Linked DNA regions of Homo sapiens: regions 1 and 3 are each linked to region 2. The links are contacts of gene promoters, found by promoter capture Hi-C in blood cells and fetal thymus (Javierre and others, 2016). All regions are on one chromosome and are shown on one strand. Each heading gives the region's core, a stretch centred on a gene start or on the middle of the fragment in contact. The rest is flanking DNA. Distances are from core to core; before and after follow the strand shown.

Region 1 (4,108 bases), core at 1,182-3,681, 150 kb before region 2:
TAAGCCTAAGAGTTTGTAAAATAACTCTAGGAAGTCCATAAACCCTCTGATGTTGTAAGTAAAATTACGGGTATATATGTTTGTGCATCTTTTTTAGTGATAATCTAGAAAAATTTCATCAGATTTTCCAAGTAAATTCTCTAAACCTCAGTATATTCTCTAAACCTCCTATATAATGGGATTTGTAGGGGTATTATGAAAAGTAATCACATAGTAAGCATGCAAATATTAGTTATTATTATTATTCCCCTAAAAGATTAAAAACTTGTGCATTAGGCCAGGCGCAGTGGCTCACACCTGTAATCCCAGTGCTTTGGGAGGCCGAGGTGGGCGGATCATGAGGTCAAGAGATCGAGACCATCCTGGTTAACACGATGAAACCCCATCTCTACTTAAAATACAAAAAAAATTAGCCAGGCATGGTGGCAGGCGCTTATAGTCCCAGCTACTCGGGAGGCTGAGGCAGGAGAATGGCGTGAACTCTGGAGGTGGAGCTTGCAGTGAGCCGAGATAGCACCACTGCACTTCAGCCTGGGCAACAGAGCGAGACTCCATCTTAAAAAAAAAACAAAAAACAAAAAAAGACTTGTGTATTAGGGAAAAGATAAACCCCTCGAATACAAAGAGTTTTTGTTCCTGATTTTCATTATTCATGAACTTTTGAAAAATTAAAACTTAGTGGAGAATCTGAGTGTTCCTTAGCTTTTAACAGTGTTTATTTATTTATTCATTTTTTTATTTTGAGACGGAGTCTTGCTCTGTTGCCCAGGCTGGAGTGCAATGGTGCAATCTCGGCTCACTGCAACCTCCGCCTCCCGGGTTCAAGCGATTCTCCTGCCTCACCCTCCCGAGTAGCTGGGACTACAGGTGCATGCCACCACACCCGGCTAGTTTTTTATATTTCTAGTAGAGACAGGGTTTCACCGTGTTAGCCAGGATGGTCTCGAACTCCTGACCTCGTGATCCGCCCACCTCGGCCTCCCAAAGTGCTGGGATTACAGGCTTGAGCCACTGCACCCGGCCAGCTTTTAACAACGTAAAGAGAGAAAAAGTCTTATGCTTAGGTCCATTCAACAAATAGTTTATTTAATCAGTAATAGTTACTGAATATCAGGTATTTACCAGGCATTCTACTTTGTGGGCCCTTGTTATATAATAGAGAATGAGGCACACAGGTTCATTGAGTCATGGAGATTATAGTAGAGGAGGTAGATAATAAACAAAAAATCACATTACGTGTTGTTAAAATTGTGATAAGGACTGTAAAAGGGAGAGAGTACAGCATGAAATGGGGAGCCTAACCCAGAGAAGTCTTTCCTGAGAAGGTGATCCTAAACTGAGACCTGGCAGATGTGCAACATTTAACTGGATAAACAGACTCATTCATTATTCATTCATTTACTGGTTCATATGTTGAATTCCTGAAACATACAGGACTATTCTAGTCACTGGCATATACAATAGTAAATGCCTGATATCTGACCTCATAATTTTCAGCTTAGTGAAGGAAGACAAACCATAGAGTGATAAGCAAATAAATAATGGCTTAATTGAGAAAAATGCTATAAAGTTAATACCATGGAGTGTTATGATACAGATTAAAGGGCTGGCAGAAGGGGATCTAATTAGATAGTTACTAGTTATGGCTGAGGATAAAAAGTTGAGACTTAAAGGATGAGAAGCCACAGTGAAGTCCAGGCGCGGTGGCTCACGCCTGTAATCTCAGAACTTTGGGAGGCTGAGGTGGCCAGATCACTTGAGGTCAGGAGTTTGAGGCCAGCTGGCCAACACGGTGAAACCCCATCTCTACTAAAAATACAAAAATCAGCCGGGCATGGTGGCACGTGCCTGTAGTCCCAGCTACTTGGGAGGCTGAGGCAGGAGAATCGCTTGAACCCAGGAGGCGGAGATTGCAGTGAGCCCAGATCACGCCAGTGCAACAGAGTGAGACTGTATCTCAAAAAATAAAAATAAAAAAAAAGCCACAGTGAAGAACATGTTTTAAGATTCTCAGTTGGGAAGGAGTTTAGATATTGGATAAACTGAAAAAAGCTTCATCGTGGTGAAAGAGGAAATACAGAGAGAGTAGTGAGAAATGTGGCAAAAGAAGAGACCAAACAATGTGTTAAGAATTTTGGATTTTATATTAAGAACAAAAGACAAAGGAGTATTGATTTTAGGTTTGCATTTTTAAATGATGATTTTGCCTTCTGCATGAACACTGGATGGAGAGGATAAAAATAATTTGAAGGAAACTGGTTAATAGGCAATTGCAGTAGTCTAGATAACATGATGGTGCTTAGATTAGGTTAGTGGCAGGCTTATGTCTGAACATATGGGAGATTGGAGATAACATGCACTAAGAGAGAGAAGACTATAGGAGGAGCAGATTTAGAGGAGAACACAGTTTTTTTTTTTCTTTTGTTTTTGAGACAGGCTCTCACTCTGTTGCCCAGGCTGGAGTGCAGTGGCACGATCTTGGCTCACTGCAACCTGTTTCCTGGGCTCAAGCCATTTTCCAGCCTCAGCCTCCTGAGTAGCTGGGACTACAGGTGCAAGCCACCAATGCCAGGCTAATTTCTTTGTATTTTTGTAGAGATGGGGTTTCGCCATGCCGCCCAGGCTGATCTTGAACTCCTGGGCTCAAAGGGACCCTCCTACCTTGCCCTCCCAAAGTGCTGGGATTATAGGCCTGAGTCACCACTCTGAGCCACTTTTTAATACATACAGTTTGAAGTGTCTGAACGTTGAAGCGGAGGATTTGAGAAGGTCGTTGGGTATCTAGTTCTCAGGCTTAGTAGAGAAGCTTGACCTGGAGATAAGAGCATTTCCTCTGAGTATTTGAAAAATTGTGTTAGGCAATATCATTCACTAAAAAGGGCTTCTGGGTGAAATAAAAGTTAGGAACAGACTCTCAAAAACCTGTGCAACTTTATAAGCAGAGCATCAAGAAAAGTAATAATTTTCAAAAACAGCAGTTAAAAAGACATACTAGACCAGGCACAATGGCTCATGCCTGTAATCCCAGCACTTTGGGAGACCAAGGCAGGCAGATCACCTGAGGTCAGGAGTTCGAAACCAGCCTGGCCAACATGGCGAAACCTGTCTCTACTAAAATAAAAAAATTAGCCAGCAGTGCTGGTATGTGCCTGTAGTCTCAGCTACTCGGGAGGCTGAGGCAGGAGAATCCCTTGAACCTGGAAGGTAGAGGTTGCAGTGAGCCGAAATTGTGCCACTGCACTCCAGCCTGGATGACAGTGTGAGAGTCTGTCTCAAAAAAAATATATGTATATATATTGTTAAGACTAAATGTCTTAATAAATAAAGAGGCTGGGAATGGTGGCTAATGCCTGTAATCTCAACACTTTGAGAGGTGAGGTTGAAGTATCACTTGAGCCTAGGAGTTGAAGACCAGCCTGGGCAACATAGGAGCCTCCCATCTCTACAGAAAAATGTTTTTTAAATTAGCTGGGCATGATGGCATACGCCTGTAGTCCTGGCTACTCAGGAGGCTGTGGCAAGTTGATCACTTGAGCCCGGGAGTTCAAGGCTGCTACTGTAAGCTGTGATCGTGCCACTTCACTCCAGCCTGGGCTGGCAGAGTGATACTCTGTCTCAAAAAAAAAAAAAAAAAATAGAAATACTACAATAAATATAGGCATTAACCTTCCAGGAAAAGATGAAGGTCGCTTGTAGGGATATAAAGAAGGGTTGAAGCTGCTCAACTGTAGGCACAGAAGGATGTCATTGGTAGATAAATGTAGCAATGCCAGACATAGCTGGTTCTAGTGTATTGTACCTGTTTGTTTCTTTTGTACAAACATTGAGAGAAGCCACACAATAAAAACACTTGCAGAAAAGTCTGTTGCCAGTAGGAGCCAAGAGGAAGAATGTGGATGAATGTACATTTTGAACAGAACTACATTGCTTATGGCTTTCTTCATTTAGTTTGTGTTGGTGTACTCCTTCGTTCAGCTGCTAGTTTTGTCCTGCAAAATATTTATGTGCTTTAAAAGTCATGTATTAACCAATACAACTTCCATATTCTGGTATCATTCTTGTATTTATCAATGATACAAGAGCTATTTAACTATATAGAAACACATAC
Region 2 (4,178 bases), core at 325-2,824:
TAATCTTCCAACTGGGCTCCGTTTTCCCAGCGTCGATTTTCCCATCATCCGCCTCTAAGAGCTCAGAGGTAGGGAGATCCTGCTCCGCCCTCTCGTCCTCTTCCTCCAAGCCTGGGGAAGGGACGTCCTGGCAGGTGGTCAGGGCGTTGCAGTTCGAGTCCAGGCCAGGATCGGGTGAAGAAGAAGCTCCGGAGCAGGAATCAGGAGAGCAGCAGAAGCTGTCCGGTGAGCAGGTGCCAGGGCCTGCTGAAGCCAGTGGGGAGCCCTGCTCCAGGGGGATGATACTGGGCTGAGGGTGGGCATCCTCATCACCAGGGAGGTCCCGCAAGTAGACTGAGACAGGGGACTCATCGGGGCTAAGATCTGAGCAGGAGCTGAGTGAGGAGGAGCAGCCTGGGTCTGAGGGAGAGGCAGCCCCCTCTTCCTCCTGTGACGGGTCCTGCCGGTTTTCTAGGCCCGGACCGTGCTCCTGGCAGCACCGGCAGGGCACAGCTGGGCTGTTGGAATTGGCGTCCACCAGGGTGCCACTGCAGGGGCCCCTGCTCTCCTTGCCCCCAGTGTCTCCTGGAGGAGGGGGTGTGCTCAAAGGCCCCTCCTGTAGCTCAGGACGGCGGGACAAGTGCAGGCCCAGGGAGACGTGCTGGAGGTGGATGTGGTTGAGGTTGCAGAGTAAAGCTCTCTGAGGGGACAGCATGATGCTAGCGGCGATGGGATGGCTTCTAGAGAACCAGAAGGGTAGGGTCTCTCACATCCACCTACCTGGCAACCACAGGTGCAGACCTAGAAGACAGAGGTGGTGAAGCCCGGCCAGTGAGGACAAGAGCTGCGGGGAAGGACACCGAGGTGACTTGACGGCAGCAGCAGGCCTGAAGGCTCTGGCTGCTTTGGAAGATATTTCAATGAGATGCAAATCGCAATCGACTGACCATTAGTTTCCACTGCAGTGTTTGCAGATGGAGTCGAATGTAACCCCCCGGGAATGGAGCCGGGAGGGTCAGAGAACGCGGCTGCGCTCTGGATCTCCGAAGGGGGGCGGGGGCCTGGAAGAGGTCCGGGCCCAGAATGGACCTCCAGGTCCCTGCTGCCGCAATCTGGCCCTGCCCTCCAGCCTACCCCTTACTCCCAGAGGAAGGGACCCAGGGAGACCCACCCAGATGCCCTGAAAGGAGGTGGAGGATGGGGGTGGGGCAATACGCAGAGTTTGTCTGGTGAATGCAGGAAAGGGGTGGGGGCTGGAGAGGAAAAGGATGGAGCAGCCGTCAGCTTGTCAACTCCGCATCTGCTGGCTGCCTCGGCCGGGCTCCAGCCTGCGCCCTCGCCCCTCGGAACAGCGGTATGTCCATTCTCTCCGCATTCGTCTCCATCGTTCAGCCACCACCGCACCCTTTCTCTATTCATTTCTCCTGCTCCCTTGTCCTGCCCCGCCCCTCGTGCCCAGGTCCATCGGTCTACACCCATGGGCCGAGCCCTCCTCACCAGGGTCCTCCTGGAACCGCTCCGGCCTTGGGCTTGTCCGCGGCTCCCACGGTCCCCGCCCGGCGGGGCACAGAGCGGGAGGGGAGGGGCACTAGCACAACCTACCCTGCGCTGCGCAGCTGCACCCCTTCGCGCATGGGCGTGGCGTAGCTCAGACCCGCCCCCAGCGTTTAGCGTCTTTTGTCACCCACCTAGAGGGTTTGATATATCCTAAGCTTTTGGCCCCTGGGTCCTGGTTCCGTGCAGCGAGTCCTCCCAGCACCCCACCCTGCACATTCTGGAAAGAGCCAGACTCTGGCTGGGCCGAGCAAGAACAGAACCACAAGAAGGTTACACGATTATTTATTGAGAGCCTCCTCTCCCCGCCCTTGCAATCTCTAGGTCACTTTCTCCGCTTGTAGATTTTGCGCGCAAGCCCCAGAAAGACGGCTGGGGGCAGGGGTGCTGCGTACTGTTCAATGAGAGCCATAATGTGGCTGTAACTGTCTTCCTCATATTGCAAGAACACTGCTGGCAGATCCAGCTCCTCATATAGCGCCTTCACCCGGGCCACTTTCTCAGCCTCCTTCTGCCCGTAATTTTCCTGGAAGAGGTTGAAAGACAGGAAAACGGGCTTGGCCTTCCCCAGAGCCTCCAGGACCCCTCCACTCCCCTCATTCACATATTCCAGAACATCTCCAAAGCCACCCACTCCTTTCCTCCCTCCAATTTTCAAGTGTCTCTACGTAGCTAAAATCCCAAGCTTCCCTTCCCTATCCCAAATATTGCCTCATACCAGGCATCCTCTACTCCAGGGTTTCTCCACCTTGGCACTATTGAAATTTGGGACCAGATAATCCTGTCTGGGGGAGCTGTTCTGTGTACTACATGTTTGGCAACATCTTTGGCTCCTGCCAACTAGATGTCTGTACCACATGCACACACACAGAGTTGTAATGACAATGGCAAAAAATGTCTGCTGACATTGCCAAATGTCCCCTCGGGAGGAAAACTGCCTCTAGTTGAGAACCACTGCTCTATCCCTTTCCACCAACTCAGGGACCCACCACCCTCTCTCAGGCACCTTCAGGATCTGGTACTGTTCTGGAGTGGCCCGTTGCAGACACTGAACCACCAGCCAGCTGCATTTGTTGTCCTGGATGTCAGTGCCAATTTTGCCGGTCACACTGGGGTCCCCAAAGAGGTCAAGGTAATCATCCTGGGCAGGGAGGGGGAGGGCAGCAAAAGAGGAAGGATGAGGTTCCTGGGCAGAGGAGGAGTGAAGCTGGTGCCTGTTCTCTGCTACTGCCTCCTGCCTTCTTACCTGAATCTGAAAGAACTCCCCCATCTCCAGCAGGATCTTCTTGGCATTGGCGTGCTCCTTCTCGCCATCAATTCCTGCCTGCAGGGAAAGGGGGGTTAATAAGCCAAACCCCAGGGGTGCCGGCATCTTCCTGGCTGCTTCCTCCCATGGGGTCTTGCCCTACTGCAGCCCCAAATCTTTCCTCTCTCTTCAGACATCTTGGCTTCCCTGACCTAGACAGTCCTGACTGATGGTCCAACCTCAATCCCACTTATTTTTGGCTAGGCCTTCCTGGGAGTCATAAAAGAGATGAATCCATTCTAGAGGTGCACAGCCTGTCTCTTCCCTCACAAATGTCAGTCCCCAAGTCATTCTGATCCACCTTCCTAATATTTTTGCCACCTCCAACTTCTTTCAAGATGAAAAGGAAATGTAGAGAAGCAAGGTCAGGGTAGACACTTAATCCCACTGACTGTCTTTAATCCACTCTTCTCCCTCTCAACCTGGATGATCTCCACACTCCTATCCATACTCAGATACAGGATATATTGTTCCCCTATTATGTGCTAAGCACTTTCATATCCCTTGCCTTGCTTAATCTTTACAGTCCTGTGAAGTAGGAATTTTATCCCCAGCTGAGGAAAGAGACTGAGCGAGACCGACTTGCTCAAGGTCACACAGTTTTTCACCAGGGGTAGCAGTGTTCACGTTTTCTGCTCTATGCCTTGCTGTCCAAAAGCCCCCATCAGCAGAGCAGAGAGGGGTGAGGAGGCTCACTCACCATGTACATGGCTGCAGCTATAGGAAGGTAGAAGGAGTAGAAAGCTGTCTTGTACTTGACAATAGATTTGTACCTGAGTAAGGGGAGAAGAGAAACTCCTCAGGAGGGCAATGCACATCCTGAGCCCTCCCTCGCTGTCCAGACATGGTTCGCGCTGTCCCTCACCTCCCCTCACCTCTTTTCAGTGAATCTGACAAGATCCACATTGCCCTGGGGGGCTGTGAGGAGGTCCAGGGTCTGCCCAATCTCAGTCTGATAGGAACTCTAAGCAAGACAAAGACGGTCCATGAGCCAGGCTTTCTCCAGATATGCGAAACCCTGGTATCCCAAGCCCAACATCCCATACCAGCTGACAACTGGGCAGAATCAGAAAGGCAACAGAAGGGGAGAAAGCCCCAAAACTTAAGGCCCATATTCATACACACAGTCCTTTATCACCCTTTCTTCCAATTACACAGGACAGAGAAGCCCTTTCTTGCCACTACCACAACCCCACTTCCCAACACCCTTCCTCGCTTTCTTTCCCTTCCAGGCACGCTGCAATCCTGTACCCTGAAACCAGCTAGATGAGCATGTCCTATAGAGGCCAAGGCTACCATGGGCACCCTCTGGGCATCGGGCCCTGTCTGCAATACACCT
Region 3 (4,080 bases), core at 1,241-3,740, 220 kb before region 2:
GGGACTGCTTTCTGGGGCTTACTTTTCCCCTTGTGACTTGGTAATTGGAAATTTATGTCTATTTCACTTTCCTGTTCTAAGTTTCTAGAAGGACTTGTTGGTATAATACAGTATTTTCTTGGTCATGAGATGCATACTTTCCTCCCAGTTTAATATTTCTAAAATTAGGAAATAACATAATTGATGTTTACATTTAATCTAGTAGTGCTCCCTCACCCCTAAAAATATGGTTATTGATTCATGAAGCTTCTTAAAATCAGCAGCTTCTTGAAATTGAAGAAATATATAGAGTACATAAATATGAAACTAACTAGATTTATTGGATATCAGTACTTTGAGAGTTAGAAATGGTTACTGATTGTCATCTTTTCAGTGAAGGGTTCTATAGTTGAGTAAAAAATTTGTCTAACTTTGTAAGTATAGTTTATATTGTAGAAATTGCTTCCAATTTTGTTGGTAACTTCATGAAGCTATTCTAATTTTTTTGTGATTTTAGTGACTTATATAATATTAGTGACTTAGTAGTTTCATGTAAAATATCTTCAAACTAATTAGGGCATGGGTTACTCTTTTACCTTTGGAAAGCACATTACATGGTGTATATAGTGCTTATTTTTTAAATTATAGAAACTGAAAAATTTATATAATATTTAAAGAAAAATATCAATTTTTAATATTTTAAGTTTCATTTTGCCTATTCTCTTTTATCTATATACACGTTTTAAAATGTAGAATTAATGTTTGTTTACTCATTCAATAGATATTTTTTGAATGCCCTTTATGTTCTAGGTGCTTTGCTAAGGATGTAGCAGTGAATACAGCAAACAGGATTTTTATTCTCATGTAATGCATGGTCTAGTGGAAGATATGGATATTAAATAACTTAATTGGTATAATGCATATTAAGAGACTTATAGTATGGATATGCACTTAGCAGGGTGATCTGCCAGACTCAAGCCATCCTCCCGCCTCAGCCTCCCAAGTCTAGGGGAATAGGAAATGTCTCCCCGAGGGAATGACTTTTAAACTAAGATGGAAAGGAAGAGAAGTAGTCATATGGAAAGATGCTGGAAGAGAGTTCCAGGCAGAGAGAACTAACTGTATGTTCTAAAGGAGGGAAAACAGTTATTTGGGAACTGAAAAGTGCTTCAAACACATGTATCACAGATGTATGAGTGTTTGCTTTTTTGTTGTTTCCTGTTGTTGTTGTTGTTAAGACAGGGTCTCGTGTTGTCACTCAGGCTGGAGTGCAGTGGTGTGATCTTAGCTCGCTGCAGCCTTGACTTCCCAGGCTCAAGCGATCCTCCCACCTCAGCCTCCCAAGTAGCTGGGACTATGGGCATGAGCCACCATATCCAGCTAATTTTTGCATTTTTTGTAGAGATGGGGTTTTGCTGTGTTGCCAGGCTGATCTCAAACTCTTAGACTCAAGCAGTCTGCCTGCCTTGGCCTCCCAAAGTGCTGGGATTACAGGTTTGAGTAACTGCACCCAGCTGAGTGCTTGCTTTTTTTTGGTGGTGGTTATTTGCTCTTGCTCTGCTCACAACAGTGTGGGGAATGGTGAGGCCAGAGATATGTAGGGGCAGTTAACAACAACAAAAAGTAAACAGTGATACTGTGAAGTGCTGTTCTAAGTACTTTTCATATATTAGTTTATTGAACCCTTACAACAATTTCTATTCACATTTGAGAGAACTGAGGCCGTGAGTACTTTGCACAAAATTAATATAGCAGGACTAGCTTCTGAGACTGTGTTTTGGCTTCAGAGACTATATTCTTAACCACCAAACCATGCTGCAGATTGTAAGTTGCAAGTTATGAGTGTGATTAGGGACTTTTATATATGAAGGGCAGTGAGAAAACATTCAAAGATTTTAAGCAGGGAAATTACATTATCAGAATTTTTTTTTTTTTTGAGACAAGGTCTTGCTCTGTCACCCAGGCTGGAGTCAGTGGTGCAATCATAGCTCACTGTAGCCTTGACCTCCTGGGCTCAAGGAATCCTCCCACCTCAGCTTCCTGAGTAGCTGGTACTACAGGTGGGTGTGCCACAACACCTAGCTGATTTTTTATTTTATTTTTTATTTTTAGTGGAGATGAGGTCTTGCTGTGTTGCCCAGGCTGGTCTCAAAATCCTGGGCTCAAGCGATCGTCCTGCCTTGGCCTCAAGCGATCTTCCTGCCTTGGCCTCAATGTGCTGGGATTACAGGCATGAGCCACTGGGCCTTTGAGAAAAACAATCTCTAGTGGCTCACGCCTGCATTCCCAGCACTTTGGGAGGCCGAGGCTGGAAGATCGTTTGAGCCCAGGAGTTCGAGACCAGCCTGGGCAACATAGCAAGATGCTGTCTCTACAAAAATAAAAAATTGGCTGGGCATGGTTGGTGTGTGCCTGTAGTCCCAGCTACTCAGGAGGCTAAGGCTGCTTGGGCCCAGGAGGTTGGGACTGCAGTGAACTATGATCGTGCCACTGCTCTCCAGCCTGGGTGACAGAGCAAGATTTTTTCTCAAAGAACAAGAACAAAATATATATATATATATAAAATAAAACACCTTTCTGGATGTAGCTTGGGCTGGAGGAGAGCAAGGTAGATGTACAAAGAAGTTAGAGGGCTGTTGCTATATTCTGGGTGAGAATTGTTGGTTTTTTTGGACAAGTCAGTGGGAGAATTGGAGAGGAACTCTATGTAATCACAGATTATTTATGTGACATTCAGAAGTTTTGGTGTTAGGTTGAAGGTTGACAATAAGGGAGTGAGAATAGTCAGGATGAGTGCCACTGCACTCCAGCCTGGGTGACAGAGTGAGACTCCATCTCAAAAAATAAAAAATAAAAATTAAAAAATTAAAAAGATACCAAAAGATTTTAGAGAAGCAAAAGACTGACTGAACCTAAAGAATTCCAACATCTGGGAGTCTGGTAGGCCAAATCAGATCTGCAGATAAGACTCAGGAGTGGCTTCCAGAGAGGTGGCAGGAATGTGTACTATCATAGTAACCTGTAGTAGTTTGACTAGTAGTAGCTCTGACTTGAGCAATTGGTGGTACTGAAATGGGAAAGATTGGAGGAGGATTAAACTTTGTAAAGATATTGAACCAGGTTTCAGATATACTGTCTGGAGCTTAAAAGTCTTAAGTAGTATAATAAATTACACAGGGAAAGAATCTAGAGTAGGAGCCAGGTGCAGTGGCACATGCCTATGGTCCCTATTACTTGGGAAGCTGAGGTGGGAGGATCCCTTGAGCACAGGAGTTGGAGGCTGCAGTAAGCTATTATTATGCCACTGTACCCCAGGCCAGATGATAGAGCCGTCTTTATTAAAAAAAAAAAAAAAAAAAAAAGGCTGGGTACAGTGGTTCACACCTGTAATCCCAGCACTTTGGAAGGCCGAGGCGGGCAGATCACGAGGTCAGGAGTTCAATATAGTGAAACCTTGTCTCTACTGAAAATATAAAAAATTAGCCGGATGTGGTGGTGCGTTCCTGTAGTCCCGGCTACTCGGGAGGCTGAGGCAGGAGACTCGCTTGAACCCAGAAGGCAGAGGTTGCAGTGAGCCGAGATTGCGCCATTGCATTCCAGCCTGGGTGACAGAGTGAGACTCCATCTCAAAAACAAACAAACAAACAAACAAACAAAAAAACGCCAGGTGCCATAGCTCATGCCTGTAATCCCAGCACTTTGGGAGGCTGAGGTGGACAGATCACTTGAGGTCAGACGTTCAAGACCAACCTGGCCAAAATGGTGAAACCCCATCTCCAAAATGCAAAATATAAGTACTAAAGATACAAAAATTAGCCTGGCCTGGTGATGCGCACCTGTAGTCCCAGCCACTTTGGAGGCTGAGACAGGAGACTCACTTGAACCCAGGATGCAGAGGTTGCAGTGAGCCAAGATGGTGCCACAGCACTCCAGCCTGGGTGACAGAGTGAGACTCCATCTCCAAAAATAAAAATAAAAAATAAATAAAAATTAAAAAATTTAAAAAATGCCAAAATATTTTAGAGAAAGAAAAGACTGACTGAACCTAAGGAATTCCAACATCTGGAAGTCTGGTAGGCCAAATCAGATCAGCAGATAAGA

Evidence for each region. The method cuts DNA at HindIII sites, captures the fragments that hold promoters and counts their contacts. A CHiCAGO score of 5 or more calls a contact.
Region 1: a contact is called between a fragment that was not itself captured here and the fragment with the promoter of RUSC1 in region 2, in 2 of 17 cell types (endothelial precursors and erythroblasts). The highest score is 7.0, in endothelial precursors.
Region 3: a fragment that was not itself captured here is called in contact with the fragment with the promoter of RUSC1 in region 2 in 4 of 17 cell types (endothelial precursors, M2 macrophages, M1 macrophages and 1 more); the score reaches 7.4 in endothelial precursors.

Annotation. Positions count from the first base shown.
Region 1 is chr1:155,473,020-155,477,127 of GRCh38, reverse strand. The region is part of intron 3 of ASH1L (ASH1 like histone lysine methyltransferase); the gene reads left to right. Among named protein-coding and RNA genes, the nearest start is that of ASH1L-AS1, 87 kb to the left of the region's middle. The HindIII fragment of the contact is 754 bases long and covers 2,055-2,808 here.
Region 2 is chr1:155,318,290-155,322,467 of GRCh38, reverse strand. It overlaps RUSC1 (RUN and SH3 domain containing 1), which reads right to left and starts at 1,574. Exons shown (of 10, transcript NM_001105203.2): 1 at 1,477-1,574; 2 at 1-780. The coding sequence starts at 694. FDPS (farnesyl diphosphate synthase) reads right to left here. Exons shown (of 11, transcript NM_002004.4): 6 at 4,177-4,178; 7 at 3,715-3,803; 8 at 3,540-3,612; 9 at 2,780-2,857; 10 at 2,540-2,674; 11 at 1,803-2,059. The coding sequence ends at 1,859. It overlaps RUSC1-AS1 (RUSC1 antisense RNA 1), which reads left to right. Exons shown (of 6, transcript NR_145424.1): 2 at 31-225; 3 at 773-843; 4 at 2,536-2,665; 5 at 4,072-4,178. RefSeq lists an enhancer at 1-867 and a silencer at 1,483-1,632. The HindIII fragment of the contact is 14,544 bases long and covers 1-1,693 here.
Region 3 is chr1:155,537,903-155,541,982 of GRCh38, reverse strand. The region is part of intron 1 of ASH1L (ASH1 like histone lysine methyltransferase); the gene reads left to right. Among named protein-coding and RNA genes, the nearest start is that of ASH1L-AS1, 22 kb to the left of the region's middle. RefSeq lists a silencer at 1,113-1,162. The HindIII fragment of the contact is 4,484 bases long and covers 249-4,080 here.